Regions from separate parts of the Homo sapiens genome. Here all the other regions are linked to region 1. The links are contacts of gene promoters, found by promoter capture Hi-C in human tissues and cell types (Jung and others, 2019). All regions are on one chromosome and are shown on one strand. Each heading gives the region's core, a stretch centred on a gene start or on the middle of the fragment in contact. The rest is flanking DNA. Distances are from core to core; before and after follow the strand shown. Region 1 holds the start of ZNF264 (zinc finger protein 264). Region 2 holds the start of ZNF8 (zinc finger protein 8). Region 3 has its middle 4.9 kb from the start of ZNF544. Region 4 holds the start of NLRP5 (NLR family pyrin domain containing 5).

Region 1 (2,700 bases), core at 144-2,643:
AGGTGTGGTAGTGCATGCCTGTAATCCCAACTACTCGGCAGGCTGGGGCAGGAGAATTGCTTGAACCTGGGAGGCAGAGACTGCAGTGAGCTGAGAGTGCACCACTGTACTCCAGCCTGGGCGACAGAGTGAGACCCTGTCTCAAAACAAAAAAAAGTATGTGAACACGGGCACAAAAAGCTCAGCATTCCTCACTGACCCCACAGAGCGGCACTGGAAGGGCTGCATCTACTTGGGGAACGACAGGCTCCAGACCAGCTTCCCATGCCCTCTGGGATCTCCCTGGGTCTCCCAGATCCCCCAAGGAAATTCCACAATGAACCAACCATCGGCCTCTTTCCTTACTGGGTTCCGACAGAACTTGTCTCTGACGCCAGGATACTTTGGGGCCACGGAACACGAGCGGCCAAGGATAATGCAGGCTGTAGCGATGAGAGTAAGGGCATCTGACTGGCCACAATGTCTGCAGTAGTTGCGGATGGCTAGAACATCCAGGAAAAGACCACACACTGTTGCCCTCCACGTCTCAGCGGCCGCAGGAAAACCATGGCAACCTTACACACCCTCCTGAGCCTCCTTAAACATACAACATACCTTGTCTCTGCTCGCGCATTTGTCGGCTTGCTACTGCCCTGCCCTCCCCTTCCCCCCTCAGGCCCCCAATTCATGCTGGAATGAGACCTGGTCCACCAGAGAATGCTTGCAGGCCAAGGATGATGGGAGTCCCCAGAGGAAGCATCATTCACTCAACAACCTACGGAGCTCCTTCCAGTAGGCCCAACACTCCTTACGGCCAGGTATAAATTAAGTGGCAAACCAGCTCCACACACCAAAGCGAACGACGACTGCGAAGACAAATCCAGGGGATACCTGGGCTCCCACCCACTTCGGAAACCGCCTCAGCGCTGGCAAGGAAGCGGCAACCGCGAAGCCACCGTCCACTCACCTGGGCCCGGTCCGTCAGCACCGCTGCCGCCATCACGTCACCCCCTGGGCCGCAGAGCTGGGACAGAGGAGCCCCGGGCGGCCTGACGGACCCCACCTGTGCCCGACCCTGGCCGGTTGCCCGGGGCTTCCAGGCGCGCTCGGGGCCGCCGCCTCCTCGGTGGCAACGGCGTTCCAGACGCAGGGCCGCCGCCTCCTCGGTGGCAACCGCGTTCCAGACCCAGGGCGCCGCCCCTGGAGACCGCGGGGCTGAAGGGCGGGGGAGGAGAGACCGCAGCTTGACGGCGACCCAGGAACAAACCCACGGAAGGGGTCAGGCTCGTACAAAGGTGCGGCGGGGATTCCTATCCTACTCCCCTGCTCGGTCCTGACTAGGGACCTGCAAAGCGGCCCCGACCGGGGCCCTCAGTGGCTACAGACCTCTCCAGACAGAAGTGCAGAAGAAAATGGCGTCCGCAGCGAGCAACCCGGAAGTCCCGCCCCCACCGGCGTGAGCCGTCGGAAACGTCCCCGTCCTAGGCCGTCGTTGGCCCAGCTCCCGCCGTACGCATAATGCACAGCCTTCTAAGTAGTGTAGTTTTCCTCATGTGTTCAACAACGGGAGGAACGCTTCACGGCGCAAGTTTTCCTCCCAGGGAAAGGCACTCCAGGACCCGAGGAGACGCTCCAGACCCACCTCTTTACGGTGGGCACAACTCGAGGGGAAGGATGGAGGGAGGGAACCGAGGGGCAAGGGTTACATTGCATTCTTCTCTCGGGAAAATCGGAGCTCGGGAGACAGGGACTTTCCTTCAGGTCAGGGCACAGGCAAAGGCGCAGAACTGGGTCCTCAGCTCGCCTGGCGACTGACCCCCTTTCACATCCCTCCTCCCCGGATCATCATCTTGGAAGACACAAAAAAGCCGAATGATCATCTGGAAGCCCTGCCCCGACACGTTGTGTGCGCAAACTGCCCTCTTTTGAGCCTTCTTTGGACCAGCACAGCCTCTACGTGATGCAGGGAGTCATGTATTTGGCCCAGACCACACAAAAAGTGGATTTGCCCACTTCTGAGGTGGGGAGGCTGCAAGTGGAGGAGGTTCGGAGGCTCAGGATGGTTAGTTTGAAATGTCTACAGAACCACAAAGTATCTCTGTCACAGGCAATTCGACTTACGACTGAATGTTGGAAGAAGGTTTGAGCATGAATATATGAATTTAGGAGTTACCTTACACTGTTATTTCAAGTCATGATATTGAGTGAGACCATCAAGGCAATGCATGTAGATGGAGAAGAAAATACACAGAGCATGAGCCGGGGACCAAGTCTACATCATTAAATGGTTGATGACAATATTACCAGAAAGGCCAGGTCCTTGCATCTAGATCCTGCTGCTTGCTGCACAGAAGGCCAGTCAGCAAGACAATGAGTATTGTCAGGGATGAAGGCTTTATTCGGTGCTGCAGCTGAGGAAAATGGGAGATCAATCTCAAATCTCTTTCCTCAACTGACTAAAACTAGGGGTTTATACATCAGGGAAGAAGTGTAACTATGTTTGAGAAAACAGGAATTAGGAAGGGGTAAGGAAGAGGAATGGGTCAACAGGCAGCAGATGGTCAGTTAGGCAATCATCATGGGTAAGGGGTATAGCATCTCGTTTTTCCAGATGTGGTAATCCAGTAAGTTTCAGTTTCTTTATACTATCTGGGAGGCCTGATGCTTGGTTTCCTGAGAAAGGAAATCAGATAAGACAAATAAAAGTGTCTCGAGTTTTAG
Region 2 (2,700 bases), core at 182-2,681, 1.1 Mb before region 1:
TGTTCTGTGGGAAGCCAGATGCCATGTTGCAAGGATCCCTAGCAGTTCCAAAGAGAGGCCTACATGGAGAACAACTGAGGTCTCCTATCAACAGACATGTGAGTGAGCCATCCTGGAGGTGGATCCTCCAGACTCAGGTCTCAGGTGACAACAGCTATGCTGACATCTTCACTGTAACTTCATGGGCCTGAACCAGAACCACCAGCTAGGACATTCCATTACTCCTGTCAGAACTCGTGAGATATTTATTGTTGTTCCAGGTCACGAAGTTTTGAGTTACACAGCAACAGGTAACTAATACACTTTCTCTCAAGCCTTTCTTACGACTCATTCCTTGTCCCCCATCCACAGCAAGAACAAAATAAAACGTGGTAGCATTTCATGCAAATTTGGAGCAACACACATCTGAAAACCTGCAACCTAAGATTATCAAGTCTCACTTTGTGTACCAAATCTGAAATAATGCAAATCCCCATGAACAAACCAACGACAAAAAATAAAAAAAAGTATAATTTCAAAGTTGCAGAGCTTGAGGAAGGATAATTATTGTTGTTTCCTGCCACGCGAGGCAGCTTTATGGAGAACACAGGCCGCAACCACTTTGTCTAGAAAGTGGAGCTCTGATGGCCAGATGGCCCTGCAAACACTGACCGCCCTGCACTGCAGTTCTCCCACAGTCTCGCAGGGGACGACCCTGGTGGTCACTCTCATCACACTCAGTGCGTGGTGACCCATCATTGCCCCCAAGAGGTTGTGCCCAAGCCCCAGGGCAGGGGCTCCGCGGTGCTGGGGTCCCGGTGGGTGTCCGCTGACTCCACGCGTTAAAGCATCTCTATTCGATGATTCTTGCCATCTGGGCACCCGGCCAACGCTACAATTACTGTTATCAGTCAACACGAGGACAGACCTTCCTGGAATGGGCAAGGGTGTCGGCGGGGCGGAGCAGAACGCAGGAGATGGGCCTGCTCGATTCTCTCGGGAATGACCGACCCCAGCCCTGGGGAGGACAGAGCCGCGTGGAGCATGCGCATTCGGGGGCCAGGCGCCTGGTTGGAATCCCGGCCCCCTCTCTGACCAGCCAGGACGGTCACCACGCCCCGACCCGCGTCTGAGTTTCCCCACGTGTCAAGGGCATTAACAGCGGTGCCGCTCTCATCGCGCCGCGAGGTGAAAGGGTCAGTCTGCGCGGGAGACGCTTGCCCGGAGCCCGCCGCCGTCGTTATTGTTGTTATTGTTACCTGAAGCCGGGCCGCCGGCGGCCCCACAGACATCACTCCCGCTACCCCTTCGTCCTCGGGGTCCATGCTGGATCGCCCAGTGAAGGACAGCGCCTGAGGTGATCCCCAGACCAGAGAGGCACTCCAGCCAAAGGGACCACCCGACTCGCCGAACGCCGGACAATGGCGGCCGCACCGGCGACGCGGCGACTACAACTCCCAGTAGGCCGTGCGGCGAACCACAGCCCTCGGCCAATGGGAGTCTCCGCTGGTCTGGCCTTCGACCAATGGAAGCATTATGGCCGATGGCCAATGGGAGCCCCCACCCGCTGGCCTCTGGCCAATGGGAGCACTCAGCTAAGGCTGGTGGGGGCGGTGTTGCTCGGGGCTGCGATGCCCCTTAGGTTGCGGGCAACCAGAGGCCTCACTCGTGGGCAGGAAGCAAGGGCGGACCCCGAGAGATGACTGATTGTGGGGGTGGGGACCGTCTGCTCCTCCTAATGGCTGGGGACCGTGCACGTCTGCGCGGGCCGGACCTGCTCTTCTCGGGAACTTGCGCGGGAGGAGGCCCGGAGCTGCGCCGCTTTACCCTCTGCTCCCCGGTGCCTAAAACGCACACGCATCAAAGTCACAGGACGAGTTAGAGGTTTGTTCATATAAAAGACTTTGGGCTTAGCGGCTGGAAGCGGGGAGGCTGGGAGCGGTGGTTGTGTTACAGGAAAGGGGTCCGATTCAGACCCCAAGGGAGGGTTCTTGGATCTCGCGCAAGAAAAAATTCAGGGCGAGTCCGCAGTGCAAAGTAAAAGCAAGTTTGTTGAGAAAGTAAAGTTGTGAAACAGCTACCCCATAGACAGTAGGACGTTCCTGAAAGTAAGAGGAACGTATGCACCCTAGGTACAATGCTTGTGTATATTTGGGCTAAAAATAGATTTTGGGGAGATGTGCTCTGCTACAAGGGTTTGTGAAAAAGGATTAATTTTCTTACTGTATTTTTCAAGAATCGATATTATTTTTAAAGCAAAATTAGGAATGCCTTTGTTCTCTAGATACCGGGATATCTGGACACTCCCAAGTCTGGGTCTGTTTTAGTACCCATTATTAATTTGTTCCCTTAACCGTAAACATCTAGAGGTTAGGAATACCTACTTTTCTGGGAATGCAGCCCAGCCTCATTTTCCTAGCCCTCACTCAAAATGGAGTCGCTCTGGGTCGAATGCCTCTGACAGCCCTATTGCTTCTCCCTGTGGGTGTTCACTTTGTGATGTGTCTTTTTCTGTGGGTCTGTTGTAGTCCATTAAAATGTTTATTAAAGGTCGGGCGCGGTGGCTAACGCCTATAATCCCAGCACTTTGGGAAGTCGAGGCGGGTGGATCACGATGTCAGGAGCTCGAGACCAACCTGGCCAATATGGTGAAACCCCGTCTCTACTAAAAATACAAAAATTAGCCCGGCGTGGTGGCGGGCACCTGTAGTCCCAGCTTCT
Region 3 (2,880 bases), core at 49-2,548, 1.0 Mb before region 1:
TGCCTGAAAGGCCTTTCTGCACTGATTATATGCATACAGTTTCTCTCTATTATGAATGATCTGGTGTTCCATAAGGTCAGATAGTCTCCTGAAGGCTTTTTCACATTTAGACATTCATGTTGGCTTTTGCCCATATGAATTTTTTGGTGCATACACAATAATAATTCTGTCTGAAAGTTTTTCCACGTTGACTACATTTATAGGCTTCTCTCCAGAATGAGTTATTTGCTGTTCAATAAGGTGAGAATTCTTGCTGCGGGATTTTCCACACCAGTGACATTCATGAGGTTTCTCTCTAATGTGAAATCTCTGATGCCATATAAGTAATCAGCTCCAGCTGATTTCCTACACTCAGGACACTCGCAGTTTCTCACCGGTATGATTTATCTGATGAGCAACAAGTGAGAACTCTAACTGAACCATTTCCAACACTGATTACAGTCACGAAGCTTCTTTCCAGTATGAGTTATTTTATGTGCAACAAGGCCAGAGCTGTATAGAAAGATTTCCTACCTTGACTACATTCATAAGGCTTCTCTCTATTACACTTTCCCTGATGCCAATTAAAATCAAGGATGTCACTGAAATATTTCTCACATTGATTACATGGAATTGTTTTTCTTCAGTATGAGTTTTCTATTGCCCAATTAGATGAGATCTCCTGCTGAAAGCTCTCTGACGTTCCCGATGTTCCCAGAGTCTTCAGTATACGTCTAACAAGGTGGGAGCACCAGGCTGAAAAACTTTCCACATTGATTACATTCATAAATTTTCTATCTGGTATAAGTTGTGATGTGCAACTAGGTGAGAGCTCCATCAAAAAGATTTACCATGTTGAATACATCCATGGGGTTTCTCTCCAGGATGAGTCCTCCCCCTTTGAGAAAGGCAAGAGCTATAAAAGAAGTTTTTCTCAAATTTATTATAATCACATGAATTATTTTATTTTTTTTTTTGAGTCTTGCTTTGTTGCCCAGGCTGTAGTGCAGTGGTGCGATCTCTGCTCACTGCAAGTTCCGCCTCCTGGGTTCATGCCACTCTCCTGCTTCAGCCTCTGGAGTAGCTGGGATTACAGACCCCCGCCACTATGCCTGGCTAATTTTGTTTTTGTATTTTTAGTACAGATGGAATTTCACCGTGTTAGCCAGGATGGTCTCGATCTCCTGACCTCGTGATCCGCCCACCTCGGCCTCCCAAAGTGCTGAGATTACAGGCGGGAGCCACCGTGCCTGGCCAAATTATTTTATCTTTTAAGATTCTCTGGTGTACATTTAGGGATATACTGGGGGTTGTTTTTTGTTTTTTCCTTTTGGCCAGTAGAGATCTAGTGTTGTTCAAGTTGTCTATATTTACTATAGTTATAAAATTTTCCTCCTGTATGACTTTTCTTCTGAATATTAAAGGGTAAAACATGGCAGAAATAAAGATTATTGTTGGCATGCTTATACAGTTTATCTTTTGTTTGCTTTCTTATTAGATGATTAAGGTGAAGCTCTGACAGAAAGTTGGTACACACTCATTTTTGCACAATTTTTCACTTCCATAATTTTTTTTTTTGAGACAGAGTCTCGTTCTGTCGCCCAGGCTGGAGTGCAGTGGTGCGATCTTGGCTCACTGCAACCTCTGCCTCCCAGGTTCAAGCAATTCTCCTTCCTCAGCCTCCTGAGTAGCTGGGATTATGGGCGCGCACCACCACGCCCTGCTAATTTTTGTACTTTTAGTAGAGTCGGGGTTTCACTATGTTGATCAGCTGGTCTCGAATCCCTGACCTCGTGATCTGCCAGCCTCGGCCTCCCAAAGTGCTGGGATTACCGGCATGAGCCACCGTGCCCGACTATAATTTTTCTAATGATTATTGAAATAAACTTATTTTTCAAACTTTTATTCTGTGAGCCAGGTTTATGGAAATATTATAGTATGAATTATCTGGAGTGGAAAAAAGTTGGAACTCAGGAAATAACAGAAAATTCAAATAGAAGATGACATAGACTCCCATCCTGAAATTAAATCTTATGTTTTCATTTTTGGATGACTCTCGTTTTTGCCCAAGTGCATGCTCACTTTTACATGTCTAGAAAAACTTCATACCTTGTGGCTGGGCTCAGTAGCTCACGCCTGTAATTCCAGCACTTTGAGAGGCTGAAGTGGGCAGACCACAAGGTCAGGAGTTCAAGACCAGCCTGACCAACGCGGTGAAACCCTGTCTCTACTAAAAATACAACAATTAGCCAGGCATGGTGGCGGGAGGCTCAGCTACTCGGGAGGCTGAGGCAGGAGAATTGATTGAATCTGGGAGGCAGAGGTTGCAGTGAGCCAAGGTCATGCCATTGCATTCCAGCCTGGGCAACAGGGCAAGACTGTCTAAAAAAAAAAAAAAAAAAAGAAAAAGAAAAAAAAAAACTTCATACATTGAACCTTACATTCATATTTTCTCTTAACTAATTATAGCAGACATCACTTTCAATTTGCTCCAGCCTACTTCTTCCCCCTCATCTGCACCTCTTTCAGTGTAAAATCCTAGCATTCACCTCCCACACTCTTCTCTATTTCCAAACACAACATAAACAATACTGTAGTAAACACCCCCGGACACCCAGAATTAGTGCCTTCATTTCTATAGGTCAGAGCCCCTCCAGTGGGACTGCACAAGTTGAAGGATAAGTGTATTTTTGATTCTCTTAGGTATTACCAAATTACTTTCCAAAGTGAGAATAATAGTCCCTATTCTTTCCAGCATTGGGTATTATCCTTTGTATTTTGCCAGTATTTTGGGTAAAAGTAACATTTTGTGTAATTTGTATTCCCTAGCTACTTGTGATTTCAGGATCTTTACATATTCTTACTGGTTATTTGAGGTTTTGTTTTCTGTGTTTTGTCTAA
Region 4 (2,700 bases), core at 129-2,628, 1.2 Mb after region 1:
GAGGGAGGTAAAGGAAGGCTGCTGGTTGAGGTTATTTTCTGAGGATGAGTGACTTCCCTAAGCTTGCATTTTGTCTCTATGCTTTTTCTACAGACCGTACCCCTCCCACCTCACCTTTCTACCCAGGTGTCCTGAATGATTAGAAAGCAGCAGTTAAGATTATAGGGCTTGAAGTCTCAGACCCAGCTTTGAATGATTTGCTGCTTTCTACCCCAGGCAAGCCATTTAACTTATCTGGGGCTCAGCTTCCTCCCTTGGTAAACAGGACAAACAACACCGTCAGAATTGTATGGCATTTCAATAACTAAGTTACGGTTAACCATAGTATTTGCACAATTAGCACCAAAACACCCTCTGGACTCCTACCAAATGCAGACCAGACATTAGCTAATCCTGACATTCAAGTTGCAGTACCCCCTACTCTGTACTTAATTTTTACTTGAGACGAAGTCTCACTCTGTCACCCACGCTGGAGTGCAGTGGCGTGACCTTGGCTCACTGCAACCTCTGCCTCCTGGGTTAAAGCGATTCTCCCGTCTCAGCCTCCCTAGAAGGTGGGATTATAGGCACATGCCACCACGCCCAGCTCATTTTTGTACTTTTATTAGAGATGAGGATTTCACCATGTTGGCCAGGCTGGTCTTGAACTCCTGACCTCAGATGATCCACCTGCCTCGGCCTCCCAAAGTGCTGGGATTATAGGCGTGAGCCACTGCACCCAGCCCTCTGTACAGTATTTTAGACCGAATGTCTGAAAAGGACGAGAGACTTACCTAAATACCCCAAGTAAATATGAGGTTTTAGAGGAAGATCTTTTCAGCAAAATGGGGTAACTGGACTTTGTTCTTTCAAGGAATCCTTTGGTCCTGGGCTTTGAGCAGCCAGAAGGGAGAGGGTGGGGGCACCTAGTAAGCTCAATACGCGGGTTCTAATCAGCAGTGGAGAACAAAAGCGGGAAGGGCAGAGAGCAAGACAGGAGGAATACTCACCAGCTTCACACCTCACCACCAAGAGCAGGTCCAGCTCTGGGCCAGCTGGCAATCACGGAAAAAAGAAGGCCACGCCCAGCTCCACGCCCACGTGGCGATAGTTCCTGGGGAGCGCTGAGCCAGTGATGTTGCTGCTGCTCATTGGCTGCAACCGGCTCTGAACCACCAGCCCCAGGGAACAGGCACTTTTCTGCACCTGTGTGCACCACTTACAGGTGCTGCTGCTGGCAAGAGGCTGCCTTTACCACCACACACCTGTGCTGAGGGCGCCCGGATGCTCACAGCCTTCAGCTGGCTGTCCTGAAGCAATTAGTGTGTGTGTGTGTGTGTGTGTGTGTGTGTGTGTGTATGTGAGAGAGTGTGTGTGTGAGAGAGAGAGTGCATGTGTGTGTGAGAGAGAGAATGTGTGAGACAGAGACAGTGTGTATGTGTGTGAGAGAATGTGTGTGAGACTGTGTGAGTGGGTGTGAGACAATGTGTGTGAGACAGAGAGTGTGTGTGTGTGAGAGACTGTGTATGATAGAGTGTGTGTGTGAGTGTGAGTGTGTGTTGGGTGCCCTTATTTTACATAATCTGGAAGTTGCACTTGGCATTTTTTAATTTTTTGTGTATTGACAAATTATAATTGTATATTTTCCTGGGGTCCGGTGTGATCTTCTATGTATACAATGTCAAATGATTAAATCAAGCTAACAAACACATCCATTGCCTTGAATACTTATTTTTTTGTGGTGAGAACACTTGAAATGTACTCTCTTAGTAATCTTGAAACAGAAGTTTATACTTTTGATAAAGTCCCATGTATTTATTTTTAGTTTTTTTTGATGTGGAGTCTTGCTCTGTGACCCAGGCTGGAGTACTCAGTGCAAACTCCACCTCCTGGGTTCAAAGAATTCTCCTGCCTCAGCCTCCTGAGAAGCTGGGACTACAGGTGTGTACCACCATGCCCGGCTAATTTTCAGATTTTTAATAGAGATGGGGTTTCACTATGTTGGCCAAACTGATCTCGAACTCCTGACCTCAGGTGATCCACCCGCCTCGGCCTCCCAAAGTGCTGGGATTACAGGCATGAGCCAGTGTGCCTGGCCAAATGTGTTTGAAAATTCCATTTGAAGAATTTATGGTGAATGCATTTTAAAATTTATGGTCTCTCCTTAGGTCATGAAGGTCTTCTGATTAGTTTTTAGAAAGTGTAGTGTCTTTCCTTTCATATTTAGATTTATACTATACTTGGAATTAATTTTGTATATGGTATGAGGTAGGAATTCAGATTTTTTCTTCTATGTAGGAACAATCAATTTAGCACCATTTGTTACAATACTACCCTTTCCCTAGTCTTTTGTAATGTCAGCTTGTCAGAAGTCACGTGATCATGTTTATGCCCTTCTGTTCTGGACTCTATTCTGTTTCCCTAGTATATTTCTCCAATCTCTAATTACATGTATGGAAAATACCATACTGTGCTAGTTATCCTGAACTCTTTGCATTTCTTTTTTTTCTTTTTCATTTTTATTTTTTTGAGACAGAGTCTCACACTGTCACCTGGGCTGGAGTGCAATGGCATGATCTCAGCTCACTGCAACCTCCGCCTCCCCAGTTCAAGCGATTCTCCTGCCTCAACCTCCCTAGTAGCTGGGATTACAGGCGCCCGCCACCACGCCTGGCTAATTTTTTGTATCTTTAGTAGAGACGGGGTTTCACCATATTGGTC

What was found. Contacts are between HindIII fragments. The study calls those that stand out against the background at their distance.
Region 2: the fragment with the promoter of ZNF8 here is called in contact with the fragment with the promoter of ZNF264 in region 1 in 1 of the 25 tissues and cell types used here (spleen).
Region 3: a fragment that was not itself captured here is called in contact with the fragment with the promoter of ZNF264 in region 1 in 1 of the 25 tissues and cell types used here (pancreas).
Region 4: a fragment that was not itself captured here is called in contact with the fragment with the promoter of ZNF264 in region 1 in 1 of the 25 tissues and cell types used here (thymus).

Annotation. Positions count from the first base shown.
Region 1 is chr19:57,190,193-57,192,892 of GRCh38, reverse strand. It overlaps ZNF264 (zinc finger protein 264), which reads right to left and starts at 1,393. Exons shown (of 4, transcript NM_003417.5): 1 at 947-1,393. The coding sequence starts at 979. RefSeq lists a silencer at 878-1,147 and enhancers at 1,318-1,377, 1,388-1,477, 1,498-1,557. The HindIII fragment of the contact is 13,408 bases long and covers 1-2,700 here.
Region 2 is chr19:58,277,686-58,280,385 of GRCh38, reverse strand. It overlaps ZNF8 (zinc finger protein 8), which reads right to left and starts at 1,431. Exons shown (of 4, transcript NM_021089.3): 1 at 1,239-1,431. The coding sequence starts at 1,304. It overlaps ZNF8-DT (ZNF8 divergent transcript), which reads left to right and starts at 1,644. Exons shown (of 3, transcript NR_187495.1): 1 at 1,644-1,863. It overlaps ZNF8-ERVK3-1 (ZNF8-ERVK3-1 readthrough (NMD candidate)), which reads right to left and starts at 1,420. Exons shown (of 7, transcript NR_144447.1): 1 at 1-1,420. RefSeq lists enhancers at 836-885, 1,306-1,355. The HindIII fragment of the contact is 27,521 bases long and covers 1-2,700 here.
Region 3 is chr19:58,222,541-58,225,420 of GRCh38, reverse strand. It overlaps the pseudogene LOC100419847. Among named protein-coding and RNA genes, the nearest start is that of ZNF544, 4.9 kb to the left of the region's middle. The HindIII fragment of the contact is 6,243 bases long and covers 1-2,880 here.
Region 4 is chr19:55,985,111-55,987,810 of GRCh38, reverse strand. It overlaps NLRP5 (NLR family pyrin domain containing 5), which reads right to left and starts at 1,036. Exons shown (of 15, transcript NM_001433705.1): 1 at 990-1,036. It also overlaps a transcript of NLRP8 not described here. The HindIII fragment of the contact is 8,677 bases long and covers 1-2,700 here.